3 separate regions of the Homo sapiens genome follow, and regions 1 and 2 are each linked to region 3. The links are contacts of gene promoters, found by promoter capture Hi-C in blood cells and fetal thymus (Javierre and others, 2016). All regions are on one chromosome and are shown on one strand. Each heading gives the region's core, a stretch centred on a gene start or on the middle of the fragment in contact. The rest is flanking DNA. Distances are from core to core; before and after follow the strand shown.

Evidence for each region. Contacts are between HindIII fragments. The CHiCAGO score rates a contact against its expected background, and 5 or more counts as called.
Region 1: a contact is called between a fragment that was not itself captured here and the fragment with the promoter of HOXB8 in region 3, in 6 of 17 cell types (naive CD4 T cells, megakaryocytes, total CD4 T cells and 3 more). The highest score is 5.9, in naive CD4 T cells.
Region 2: the fragment with the promoter of CBX1 here is called in contact with the fragment with the promoter of HOXB8 in region 3 in 5 of 17 cell types (megakaryocytes, naive CD4 T cells, erythroblasts and 2 more); the score reaches 6.2 in megakaryocytes.

Annotation. Positions count from the first base shown.
Region 1 is chr17:48,060,516-48,064,912 of GRCh38, reverse strand. NFE2L1 (NFE2 like bZIP transcription factor 1) reads right to left here. Exons shown (of 6, transcript NM_003204.3): 6 at 3,368-4,397. Among named protein-coding and RNA genes, the nearest start is that of NFE2L1, 14 kb to the right of the region's middle. The HindIII fragment of the contact is 2,051 bases long and covers 519-2,569 here.
Region 2 is chr17:48,098,234-48,102,991 of GRCh38, reverse strand. It overlaps CBX1 (chromobox 1), which reads left to right and starts at 1,514. Exons shown (of 5, transcript NM_001127228.2): 1 at 1,514-1,724. RefSeq lists enhancers at 1,096-1,355, 1,182-1,781 and a silencer at 1,726-1,775. The HindIII fragment of the contact is 8,551 bases long and covers 1-3,480 here.
Region 3 is chr17:48,614,011-48,618,759 of GRCh38, reverse strand. It overlaps HOXB8 (homeobox B8), which reads left to right and starts at 3,468. Exons shown (of 2, transcript NM_024016.4): 1 at 3,468-4,479. The coding sequence starts at 4,056. RefSeq lists an enhancer at 727-1,250. The HindIII fragment of the contact is 787 bases long and covers 3,011-3,797 here.

The DNA.
Region 1 (4,397 bases), core at 295-2,794, 550 kb after region 3:
AAACTATATTTAGCGTGAGCTTCTAAAGTTGTTGCTCTTGGTCAGTGCCTACAGGATGAGGTAGGTGGCGGACTTGAGGATAGTGGGGATGTTGTTTTTTTCCACAAGGAACTGTTTACCAAGCAAACGTGAAGAGGGGCAGCAAGGTTTGGTTTAGCTGGGGGTTATAAAAGCAGGGATGAGGCCAGCTTGACAGGGCTCTATGAAAAGTACCTCCCTGTTCACCAGACTGTTGGACTAATTATTACTCAGCTTTCCCCAGTAAAGGTGGGGAAATGTCAGCTATGGAGGCCAGTCTTGATGACACTGAAGCATGTCTCTAGATCACGATTTTCCCTCTATAGTTCACTATGCTATTTTTATTGATACTGAAACAGCCCCACCTTCATTGGTGAGATCTATGCAGGGCAGAGGTTGAAAATATGGGCCTATTTCCATCTCCTTAACATGAGTAAGATGTGAGAAAAAAATCAGTTTGAATGAAGCCTGCAACTGCTGAAGTCAAGACAAAGTAAGCTTTCCCACACCCACCCAAGTCAGTCACCCTGAAGAGTTTGGTCCTTTGTTAAGCCTAAGTCCTGTTCGGCTTAGGACATCTTCTCACTTCCTGCCTTAGGTAGATGGCTAGTGGTAGCAGCCCTTCCACAGGCCTTACTTCAGTCCTCCTATCTTCCTGCCAGAAAGAGGCTGGAACACCCACTCTACCTGCCAGCAGAAAGAGGTCAGCCCCACAGCAGTGCTGACCAACTTGGCCCCATGCCCCAGCTAATCAGCACGATCCTAGACAAAACTGTACATATCTCTAAGGGGGAGGGGCTGCTAACAAAAATACTCCTTTTTTTTTGAGACAGAGTCTCGCTTTGTCACACAGGCTGGAGTGCAATGGCATGATCTTGGCTCACTGCAACCTCCGCCTCCCGGGTTCAAGCCATTCTCCTGCCTCAGCCTCCTGAGTAGCTAGGATTACAGGCACGTGCCACCATGCCCGGCTAATTTTTGTATTTTTAGTAGAGATGGGGTTTCACCATGTTGGTCAGGCTGGTCTCGAACTCCTGGTCTTGAACTCCTGACCTCGTGATCCACCTGCCTCAGCCTCCCAAAGTGCCAGGATTACAGGCGTGAGCCACCATGCCTGGCCAACAAAAATATTCTTACTCAGACCAGGGACAACACTAGCAATGGGATTAAGAAGAATTTTTCAAATCTCTTAAGTCTTTTAAGTTAAAAAAAAGTTGCAAAATAAGGTAAAAGTTACAGTGTAATTACTGAACAAAAATACATATACAGTCATGTGCTGCATATTTCATGAGTGACAGATCATGTATATGATTATGGTCTGATAAGATTATAATACCCTATTTATACTGTATTTTTTTTTTTTTTGAGACAGGGTCTCACTCTTTCACCCAGGCTGGAGTGCAGTTGCACAGTCTTGTTGCGAGTACAGGCGTTGAGCTACTGCACCCAGCCTATATTGTGCCTTTTCTAGGTTTAGATACACAAGTACTTATCACTGTACTTCAGCTGCCTATAGTATTCAGTATGGCAACATGCTGTACAGGTTTGTAGCCTAGGAGCAATAGGCTATATGGCACATAGGCTAGGTGTGTAGTAGGCACTACCATTTAAGTTTGTGTAAGTACACTATGACAAAATTGTCTAATGAGGCATTTCTCAGAATATATGTTGGCCGTTAACACATGACTGTACATACATTTCTAGGAAGGGTACAAGAATATTAAAACTTAATTTTACTTCTCACAGTTTACCCTTCTATATATAATTTGTATTTCTTAAAGTATTGGTATGTGTTTTTGAAACCTTTTTTTTTTTTGAGATGGAAGTTTTGCTCTTGTTGTCCAGGCTGGAGTGCAATGGCGCGCTCTTGGCTCACTGAAACCTCTGCCTCCCGGGTTCAAGCGATTCTCCTGCCTCAGTCTCTGAGTAGCTGGGATTACAGGCGCCCGCCACCACACCCGCCTAGTTTTTGTATTTTTAGTAGAGACGGTTTTACCATGTTGGTTAGGCTCGTGTTTGAACTCCTGACCTCAGGTGATCCATCTGCCTCGGCCTCCCAAAGTGCTGGGATTATAGGCGTGAGCCACCGCACCAGGCCTCAAACTAATTTTTAGTCTTGGTTTTTTCACCCCTTTACGTATCTTGGTTTTATCTGGCTTACAGACTTTAGTCAATTCTGAATTAGGAAAGAGTTCTTGTTTGATATGACCAAACCTTTCCAACTGGAGACTGGGGAGTTGTGGAGAGGCTCTTATAAACTGAAACATAAGAAACCATCATTATTCTTACAATTCTACTGAATTGTAAACATTACTGAAGTAGTATCACTAAAGGACTGAGCTGAACCAGGTTACAGGGTGGTATCCAGGAGTTTGAGATCACAGCTTCCATTAAGAGGATCATAGCTTCCACTCCTAAACCCTGCCCAATAATCTCACAGAAGCCAGGTGCAATGGCTCACGCCTATAATCCCAGCACTTTGGGAGGCTGAGGCAGGCGGATCACTTGATGCCAGGAGTTTGAGACCAGCCTGGGCAATATAGCGAAAGCTTGTCTCTACAAAAATTACCTAGGCGTGGTGGCGTGCGCCTGTAGTCCCAGCTATTCAGGAGGCGGAGGTGGGAAGATGGCTTGAGCCCAGTGGCAGTTGCAGTGAGCCGAGATCACGTCACTGCACTCCAGCCTGGGAGACAAAGCAAGACCCTGCCAATAAAAAGACTGCTGAGTGAGTGTTCATTCTTCCAGCATCTACTAAACACCTGCCCTAACATGGGCATGTGGAAGTTCCAGCATCCCAGAGACCTTCACACATTACAGCTCTTCACAGGGCGGGTAGTTGAGCAGTTTGAGGGAAAGCAGATTCTAGCCCCCTCAGCTGGGGAGGTTTCCCAGTGTCCTAAACCTTGGCCTCCTGCTTCTCTTTAGTGGCCCTGCTCCTGCTTAACACAGTAGTGCTTGTCACATGTTAGTCGCTGCCATGGATTTCTCAGGTTTTCAACATCATAACTACACTCCAATTCTCTGCACCCCTTTGGCAGGTGAGGCCAATAGAAAAATAACAGCACAGTTGAGTTTAAAAATGTAGTTTGTAGCAGGTGGACAGGTAAAGAGCTGGGTTAAATGACACCTCCACCTATCCTAGCTGTATGAGAATAAAAAAACTCCGAATCCTTCCTGAGAGGATTGAGCTGGCTAACCCTATGAAGTACATGGTGTCTAATGCCTGCCCCCAAGGTTTAATACAATATTTAAGACTTGCCTTTTGAAGTTCCCCACTGTCAACCTCCCCAGTTCTCCACCCATCTTCCCATGTGAGCTCTGCCTTAGCCACGCAATGGCCAGTCCTCCCTACAATGAGTCCATTTCCTTTATTCTCAATTTAAATTCAAAGTGGGGAAAAAGTGCACTTAAGAATGAATCATCCATTTTATTTTATTTTGTCATGTGCTCAACAGCATCTCTCTCTCTCTCCCCTCTCCCTGGCAGGTCACAGAGATAAATTAAAAATAAAATCTACAAGGAAAATAATTTATAAAAGCACTCCCAGGTTCACACCTTCTATCCCTACTGCTCAGTTAGGCACCCCCTAACTGGGAATCAGTGCTTCCCCCCACCCCCATTTCACTCCCACTTGTCTGGGGCAGACGGTACTCCAGAGCCGGGCAGGGGTGAGGGCAGCAGTGGCAAACAGTTAAAAATAAAGACATTGTAGTCCTGGAACCATCTGGCCACCTTGGCACTCCCATGTCTGCCTCCCCCAGGCAGCCCTCCAGGAGCCTGTGCGAAGCTGGGGCTGTGGAGAAGCTGCCTGTGGCTGAGAGCTTGTGTGTTTGGGGAGGTGCTCTCAGCCTGTCATATGCACTTCTCAATCTTCTAGAAAGAAACCCAAAAAAGAAAGCAGACGACGACCTCGGGACAGAGGAGAAAAATCCCAAGTGTTCACACAGTTACACGGAGTCTTTATGGCAAAGAGAACATTTAGCAGCTTTGAATATTGGGCATCTCCTTTTTACTCAACACAAGCATTCTAGACCCTATAAGTGAAACAGGGCACAAGCCCTAAAAAAATCAAAGCGCAAGAAATTCTAAGAGGACTAGTTCTTTTGTTGTTGCTGGGTTGTGTAATTTTTTGTGTTTTCCCAGTGATAAGCCCAGTTGTTGGTAGGCAGAGGCCCGAGGGAAGGGTGACTCCCCAGTGTTGTGCTGAATCCTGCCTGGAGGCTGCTACACTAGATTCTCCATCATTCCTCTGCCTCACAGCAGTCCCAGAAGAGGAAGGCTGCAGGCCCAGTTCCCGGAGCACTGCCATCACCCTACCCCAGCTTACAGAAGAGCTCAGGCAGTCTGTGAGGGGTGGGGAACACAAACACCGGACCAGG
Region 2 (4,758 bases), core at 265-2,764, 510 kb after region 3:
TGTGCTTTCTTGAAGCCCTTTTAACTAAACTCTATTATGATATTGCTGGGCTGGGTTTTTCTTACATGACAGTTCTCCAGAGCCGTGAACAGTGCCTGCATCAGCAAAACTGTCTTATAAATGCAAACTCCTGCCCTGAACAGTGCCTGCATCAGCAAAACTGTCTTATAAATGCAAACTCTTGCCTTTTGGGGTAGAGTGCAATAGAGTTTCCCTCTTCCTCCTGATTAGAAGGATACTTTAAAATAAAAAAATAAAACTTTAGTTATATTGTGGCTTAAAAACATGTTTTTTTCCTAATTGTGTGTTTCCTTGGGATGATTGGGTGAAAGGTGCTGACGGAGATTAATGACACTGAAAAAGGTGAGCACAACTTACAATGAAAAAGAGGACATTTTTGTGGCGCAGCCAGTGAAAAGGGGGAAATTCAGGAAGCTATGAGAGGCCTATGGGGGGACCTAACCTACTCTAGGGAATCAGGGAAGACCTCAAAGGGGAAGTAATCTTAACACTGAACAGTATTTTTTTTTTTAGACGAAGTTTCGCTCTTGTTGCCCAGGCTGGAGTGCAATGGCGCGATCTCGGCTCACTGTAACCTCCACCTCCTGGGTTCAAGCGATTCTCCTCCCTCAGCCTCCCGAGTAGCTGGCACTACAGGCGCCCGCCACGACGCCCAGCTAATTTTTGTATTTTAGTAGAGATGGGGTTTCACCATGTTGGCCAGGCTGGTCTTGAAACCCTGACCTCAAGTGATCCACCCACCTCCGCCTCCCCAAGTGTTGGGATTATAGGCTTGAGCCACCGTGCCGGCGTGAGTAGGAATTTTACAGAGATTTGAGGAGGCAGAGATTGAGGACTAAGAAATCATTGGAAATTTGAGGCAGCGGCGATATGATAAAGTTCTGGTGAAGAATCTAAGATTCAAAAATTTTGAGGATGTGAATTACAGAACTGTCCAGAAGTGGTTGATTTTTTGGGGGCCAAGCATCAGGGGGCTCGCTTATAAAAATCATATGTTCTAATTTTTTTTTTTTTTTTTTTTTGAGATGGAGTCTCGCTCCATCGCCCAGGCTGGATCGCAGTGGCTGGATCTCGGCTCACTGCAAGCTCCGCCTCCCAAGTTCAAGCAATTCTTGTCTCAGCCTCCTGAGTAGCTGGGACTACAGGCACCTGCCACCACGCTCGGCTAATTTTTGCATTTTTAGTAGAGACAGGGTTTCACCTTGTTGGTAAGACTGGTCTCGAACCCCTGACCTCAGGTGATCCACCCGCCTCGGCCTCCCAAAGTGCTGGGATGACAGGCGTGAGCGACTGCCCCTGGCCCATATGTTCTAATATTCTAGGTTACAACGCTCTACGCTGCAATCTCTCCACCGTTACAGTTTAAAAACTATAAGTCCCTACCACCCTCGCCTACTGTGCGTGCGCGGCGCGCGGCGCTTCGGGCCTTGTAGTCTTGGACAGACCCCCGAGGCCCATGGTGCCGTGCGGCGGGTCGTTGCGCCTGCGCGGTGCGAGCGGCGGGCAGCGCAGACTGCGAGGCTCTTTTGTTCGGCTGAGGGGAGGGCCGTTGGCCGGGGCCTGCGGTACGCCGCTTCAGTGAGGGACGCCACTGCGGCCACCCGGCTTGCTGCCTTCCTGGGCGCCACTCCCCCAGGCGACCCGACGCGACGCGCCAGCAGCGCAGCACCGATTCCTCTCGGGCTCTTGGGCGCTGCTCTGAGGTGAGGAGCCCGCTGGAGGCGGGAGAGCTGGGGGAGGGGGCGCGGCGGCGGCGGCGGCGGGAGCCCTGCGTGAGGGAACGCGCTTTCGAGGCGGAGGTTAGGAGCGGGGAGCGCGCCCGGGTCCAGCGTCCTGCTTCTCCGCTTCCCGCGCTGAGCTCTTCGCCTGTCGCTGAGGCGTCGGTGCCAGCTGCGTGAAGGATGGAGAGGGCGGGGCGCGAATCCTGAGCCAGAGACTGAGTGCTTGGGGGTGGGCCGAGCACTTGGGGGCCGCTCTTCGGGGCCCGGGTGGTCTGGAACAATGTTGCTTGGCTGGGCGGCTGCGGGATAGGGCGGAAGGGGACAGGCTTGAGGCTTGGATAGGCGTGAGGAGGCGCATACGACCGCACAACCCGAGGTTTGTAACTGTATTCGGAAGACGCCGGGTCCGGCTGGGACTGCCAGAGGAACCTGGCTTTGCAGGACTACGGAGGAGTAACGTCGAGTGAATTGGAAGAGGGCCCAGGGCCGCACAAGGTGTGCTGATTGGAGGAGGAGATGTGTGGAATAAATTGGGAAAGGGGACACGGAGGGGGAGGGGCAGGCGTTTGCTGGGCCTGACTCTGGAAGGGGAGGAGCTGTTAGGATAAGTAGGGCGGAGATCCCGAGAATATTTCTATAAGGTATGTAAGAAAAAAGGGGAAAGCAGGCCGCCCTTGCATCCTGATGGGTCCTTACAGTGGGGAGGCTGTAAGAATAATGTGCGAAGAAAGGATGGAATACGCTTTTTTCAGTTTTCCAGGTTTCCTACTACCTTCACTCCATGATTCCTTTGGGGAGTTAAAAAAGTCCAAGTGCAGTTCTTGCTTTGATTCAAAATTAGTTCCGTACGTTTTTGTGTGGGATCGTAACTGGTCTCACAAAGGTGATGAAATTGTAAAAATATGTAGATGAGTTAATAGTTGAGGAACGGCGTGAGGTAGTGAGAGATTGTGAGATCGTGTGAGGTGCGAGAAATTGGGAGACATAGGAAAATTATGTGAGATTGTGAGGTAATATTTGTTTCGTGGGCCCTTCTGTTTTTAGCCAGCTTTTCCTTGTTGGAAAATTTGAATAGAGTGAGCTATATTTTACCTCTTTTTTTTTTTTTTTTTGAGAAGAGTCTTCCTCTGTTGCCCAGGCTGGAGTGCAGTGGTGCGATCTTGGCTCACTGCAACCTCCACCTCCCGGATTCATGCGATTCTCTTGCCTCAGCCTCCCGACTAGCTGGGATTACAGGCACACGCCACCACGCCCGGCTAATTTTTGTATTTTTAGTAGAGACGGGGTTTCACCGTACTGGTCACGCTGGTCTCGAACTCCTGACCTCGTGATCCTCCCGCGTCGGCCTCCCAAAGTGCTGGGATTATAGGCGTGAGCCACTGCGCCTGGCCATATTTTACCTCTTTTTCAAAGTTTCAAATGAGGGTTTTTCATAAATTGGTGTTACATTTAGACGTGTTGGTTTAACGCAATTGAGGTGGAATTTACAAAAAGTTCAGCTATAATCAGTTATATACTAGAACCCCTAGCCCAGGGTAAAGTAGCCTCCTCAATTGTGTTAAGAGTCACATCAGCAGTTTGGAAAGATTGTGAAAGGTCCAAGGCTTTGGAATAGATTCAGGAATACAATGGGGAAATTAATGCCGGTGTTCCTCCCTAGGTGCCTTATAGACTTTTATATGAAAGTGGTGTGATTGAAAAGCACTTGTATTGAAACCGGTGGCACCTTAATGAAGCTTCACGGGAGTGGAGGACCTGAAGTCGTTTACGGTTTTCCCTGTGGTGATATTTTTCTTCAATGGCTGCTGTATCCTAAATTGTTTCTCATTAAAAAAATAAATAGTAGGGTCGGGCGCAGTGGCTCAAGCCTGTCATCCCAGCACTTTGGGAGTCTGAGGTGGGCGGATCATGAGGTCAAGAGATCGAGACCATCCTGGCCAACCAACATGGTGAAACCCTGTCTCTACTAAAAATACAAAATTAGCTGGGCCTAGTGGCGCATGCCTGTAGTCCCAGCTACTCGGGAGGCTGAGGCAGGAGAATCGCTTGAACCCGGGAGGCAGAGGTTGCAGTGAGCCGAGATCTGCACCACTGCACTCCAGCCCGGGCAACAGAGCGAGACTCTGTCTCAAAAAAAAGAAAAGATAGATGATAGGTAGATAGATGGTGTGTGAAATAAATAGTTTTGAATGTAAATAGAAGCCTAGTGGTAAGTAAGTTACCCTGGTCTTCTGCATTTCTGAATACAGGATACCTATAACTTACAAACTATACCTCTAAAGAAAGATAGCACTCATTCTTGTGCCCATTTTAAGGACTAGGAAAATGTTTCTCTTTGTTGTTCACACCATTTGAAAATAATTCATTAAATTTTGGCATCCTCTAGTGGTTTATCTAGCAAAACCTCCCTTTTTTAAAAAAAAATCCTATCTGCAGTGGTGTAAGAGATTTTGCATTAGATTTGGTAGATTTTCACTTCATAGGTTCTTTCCACGAAGAGTTTCTGGTGTAGAAGGCTAATTGCTAGTTTATGGGCTCCCATAAAATGGAGCCATACTGGCCCCATCTCTACTAAAAATACAAAATTAGCTGGGCGTGGTGGTGCACACCTGTAATCCCAGCTACTTGGGAGGCTGAGGCAGGAGAATCGTTTGAACCCGGGAGGCAGAGGTTGCCATGAGCCGAGATCGCGCTATTGCACTCCAGCCTGGGCAACAAGAGCGAAACTCTGTCTCAAAAAAAGAAAAATGAAAAAATGGGGACGCACCTCTTGTTCATTAGTGCCTGGCACATAGTAGGCCGTTCAGATTGTTGATGAATGAATGATGAATAGGGGAGCTTTGAGATCCATTCTGAGAACTCAGCCAAATTAATGTGCATAGTAGTTTGCTTGTCCTGTGTCTGTGACATTTGGCAGAGTTAAGCTGTTGCTTTGCCATGTTTGTCTTAGCCTCAGTTAGTTTCTTTTTGTTTGTTTGTTTGTTTGTTTTTTGTTTTTTTAAGACAGAGTGTCGCT
Region 3 (4,749 bases), core at 2,219-4,718:
AGCCGCTAGATGGCACCCTTGCTCCATGTGAAACTCCCTGGAGCGGCAGCTGCGGATGTCTGCTCCCGGCACCGCGCCTTGGTCGGCCCTGAATCCAGGAACTGAGTGCTACCAAAAGTCATGAATAATTTGTACCTAATAAAAAAAATAGGGCTCGTTATGGCCTTACCCCCATTTTATAGATTTCAGTTATAGTAGTGTTCCCCCATCTCCTCAAATGGTCAATTTTCTGAATTTTCCCCAAGAGGAGGGCTCAGTGATTCTCACCCAGTTGCTGTGTTCGGTGGGGCAACAAATGCGTGAAAACGGGGAATAATAGTAATAATAGGAATAATGGGTCCAAATCCAAAAGGAGAATTGATTCGAAACAACGAGATTTTCCGTGAAAGGAGGCGAAAGGAATGTCCCTGGATGCGGGTCAGCAGGTCAGGTGAGAGGGGCTAGCCGGCAAAAGAAGGTAGGATGGAGAGGAAGCTGCCCATCGGCTGGAGAGAAAATCACGTAAGCCAGCCCGAGACCCCCCAGTTTGTGTGTGTGGGGGAATGGAGCCATAGCTTTTGTGGGGATTCGGAGATGCCCAAAGCCGGCAGGGCGGCTTCGCACGGGCGCAAGCTCTGGAGCCTTTGTATGAGTCCAGGGCTGGGCTGGGCTCGCGCAGGGCGACCTAGGCACGGGGCAGGGGCTCCCCAGGGCAGCAGGGTGCGGGAAGGCTCGGATGTGGTCTCTGGATGCTTTGCGCGCTCCCAAAGAATGCGCGTTTTCCCATGGGCGCGAAGGCGGGCGCGGCGTCAGGACGCAGGAGCTCTGTTCTCCCTGGGTTCCTGGGCTTCCAGGTGAGAGGTGCGGCTTCAGTGCGCCTTGGCCCTGGCCGCAGGCAAACCTGGGGGCGCCGGTCCTTTCCTCATTGAGCAGCTGGAGGTCTGGACTCCGGGCACTTTCGTTCTGAGACCCGCACCCTGGTTGTTCACAGCCCCTTGCATTCCAAATCTCCTGTGTCCTCCCGGCCCCGCCGGATCCCTGCCTTCCATCCGACAAACCTGCGCCAGCAATAGATACTCCCACCCCCTCAAAATCACCCCAGCTGCAGCCTCTCCTCTCCCCCACCAGGACTTAGTGCAAGGAGGTAAGCGGAGTTTCTCCTCAACTTGAGTTTCTCTAATAAATCTGCGCTCCGCTGGGTGTTTATAAATTGTCTCCTCGCTCTTTCGTTTTTTTTTTTTTTTTTTCCTATAACAGAAACATTTTCCTTCCATCAGGAATTTCTGGCACGGTGTAGAGATGATTTAGAACAAGCCATTGAATTTGTACCTCGCCGGTGAGTTTTCAAATAATGACCATAAAATCCTCTGCACTTGATAAAAATGTTTGCTTCGGCAACAATTTAACTCGGCCCTCCGTTGCCTCACGGTCCCCTCAGCCACGCGCTGAAAATTCAAAGCCCTGGTTCTCTCCATTCCTCCTCTTTTCCTTTATCTCTCTCCCGCTTCTAGCCCCTCTCTCATTCTCTAGGTTCACTTTTGAAGAACCAAATGACCTCACTGGTAAGGTTCCCTTTGGAAAAGTGATAGTTTCATTTTTACAAATGTTGGGGTGTATGGGGTCCCCAAAAGGTGCCCGTCAAAAAAACAAACCACTGTTTCCTGAATAAACAATGGATTGAATATATTTGTAAAGCCTCCACTTTTGTTGCTCAAAATTTTCTTTCTGTCTCTCATTCCTCTCCCTTGCCAATCTACTGCTACAGGAGGCTACTGGTTCTGACCCTCAGACTGGGGCCTTCTAAAGCCTGGCCACCACCATCGTGAAGCCGGGTAGGCAGGGAACGCAGTGGCCACAGAGTGTGGCACCCAGTCAGCTTGTTCCAGCTTTCCGTGTTCAGACCTCTGGTTCCCAGGTCTGCAGGGAGAGCCAGGTTTAACTACAGGCTCCCCAAGGCGAAAGGAGAGAAAATGGGAGACTCAGCAACCTTGCTTTATCTGAATTCCACACCCAAGTCAGTTTAGGTGGTGACAGTGGCTCAAAAGGTCTTGGGGACACTGAGGACTAATAGATGCCCTCCCAACACATACTCTGCAGGCACTGCCTAGGGTGGCTGAGAGCATAGGACAGCGGACACGAAGGCCAGGTGCCAGGGCCTGATACCCAACCTTCTTTCCTTTTGATGCAGTGATGGGCTCAGTGGTCCCCTCTCACCCTTAGGCACTGCAGAAGGTGTGGGGGTCGGCCTGGGAAGGTTGGGAGCTATTAATAATTGGGCTTGGCTACTGGGTCCCAAGGCCTGGGTGCAAGTGTCGGGTAGCCCATTGGGGCTTCATCCCTCTGATGGCATCAGGCCCTCTCCCTTCATGCAAAGTCTGCCCTCAAAAGTGCTGATGGGCTGAAGGGCCTTCAGGAGACCCCCTTTTCAGCAAGCAGAGAGTGCACAAACCTGCAGAATCGGCAGTGGCAGCTCGAACTTTGCTCTGTGCTTCAACCACTGCTCATTAACCAGAAAGTTTCTTCTTCCCTCCCGTTCCCTCCTCAAGATCTCCCAGATCCCTGTTTCACAGAAAATTTTTGCTTATTTGTTTAATGAGAGGAAGTTTTGTGACTGGCCAGGGCAGGGCAGAGAGGGCAGGGCAGAGAAGGGACCTTTTGGGGGCTCCAGAGAAGGGGTGGGGGCAGGTGCTTGCCAGGACGGAAGGAGGTGAAAATCTCAGAAAAGTCACCGTTTGTGCCAAAAAAAAATCCCCATAATCATTCTCATTTCGGCTTCGTCACCCCCACCGTGCTGCAATCGGGCGGCGGGGGCGATCGAAGCTGCAGTTTTATAGCTGTAGAGGAAAGAACTCGTAAAATGCTAACAGCTTTTATGCGCTGCGGCATAAACAACAACAGACTCCGGCTTTATTGCGTTTTATAGTTTCTTAAAGAGTTTACAGCCGTTTTTTGGGGGGCCGGTTATCCAGCCAATTCCCTCCACACGATAGTTAAACCTTTATCAATAATAAGGAAATTGATCATTAAAGCTTTAAATATGACTACCTCGTTTGTTTGAAAATACGTTTAGGAGAGGAAGCTGTATGATTTGATAACTTGTATTAAAATACCAATTACATTTATAGGACCTTTTAAAACTCGGCGCAATTAAACCGTGTTCTTTTACATTTTTCCGAAGCGACCCTGACATTTAGAAAGACTCCAATTGCCTCGTTAAAATCGCGAAATTAACAGCGTGCCTACGCCTGGCGCGTTGTGTATGTGTGTGTGCGTGTTTTTTTCCGTGACTCCCCCACATCAGTCTTTGGGGGTGGTCTGCGAAGGTATTTGATTTGTTGTGAGGCGAGAGATATCTCATTAATGTAGGTAGTTAAACAGATTTAATCCGTATTCATTCTCTCTCACCCCCTCTCCCTCTCCCCCTCTCTCTCCCCCTCTCCCCCTCTCTCTCCCTGGGTGTTTTTTTCTTCCCCTCCTTTTTTTTTTTCCGCTCTCTCCTCACTCCCTGGCGCTCTCTCGCTCTAGCTCTCTCTCTCGCTCGCTCTCTCTCGCTCTCACCCTCGCTCTGCGTTCTGTCCGGGAGGAGTACGAAGAAGCCAATAGGATGCGGGGTCTCTAATGGATGCAAATGATCATGAAAAGACAGTGCAAAATATGAAACAACTCATTTGCAGGGAAGTAAATCACCGAAAACTGTTTATGAACTGGCATCCCTTCTTCGAAATGTAAAGCGAGGACCTCTTTAAGTGGTGGTATATTTTTGTTTGGGGGGTGGGGGGTGGGGGGAGGGCGAGCGAGCCGCGGCTGCCATGCAAGCTTAGACTTTTGGAGGCTTCTCTGTCCTTTTCTATTCCTGGAAACCACAAAAAGTGTGTCGGCTTCGAGATCTTCTTCGCCTTTTCTTTCTTTTCTTTTTTTCCCTCCTCTCTTTCCCTCTCCTTTCCTGGCGAGGGTGACTAGGAGCCGGCGAATCCGCGTTTTTTTCTCTCTCTCCCTCCCTTTCCCCCTCCCCACCCCCTCCCCAACAGCCCCCAACTATAGCCTCCGCCGCCGCCGCCGCCTCAAAATTCAATAAAATGAGCTCTTATTTCGTCAACTCACTGTTCTCCAAATACAAAACCGGGGAGTCCCTGCGCCCCAATTATTATGACTGCGGCTTCGCCCAGGACCTGGGCGGCCGACCCACCGTGGTGTACGGTCCCAGCAGCGGCGGCAGCTTCCAGCACCCGTCGCAAATCCAGGAGTTCTACCACGGGCCGTCGTCGCTGTCCACGGCTCCCTACCAGCAGAACCCGTGCGCCGTGGCGTGCCACGGGGACCCCGGCAATTTCTACGGCTACGACCCGCTGCAACGCCAGAGCCTATTCGGTGCGCAGGATCCAGACCTGGTGCAGTACGCAGACTGCAAGCTTGCCGCCGCCAGCGGCCTGGGCGAGGAGGCCGAGGGCTCCGAGCAGAGCCCGTCGCCCACACAGCTCTTCCCCTGGATGCGCCCGCAAGGTGAGCTCGCCTCGGGGCCGACAAGGGCAGGAGGGGGCCGGAAGGGCCCAAGGCCTGGCAGGCCGGGGCGCATTTCCTCCAGCTTCTGGAAGACTTGCCGGCTCCGTTCCGATCGCCTGCCGCTTTTCCCCTTTCTTTCTTATCTTTCTTTCTTCTTTCTTTTTTCTTTCCCTTGAAGGGGGTCGCTTAGAAACATTTCCTGAATCTATAAACCCCTCATCCTGCCTTACTTTTCTTCTTCTTCTCCTCCTTTTTTTCCCCTTTTACTGT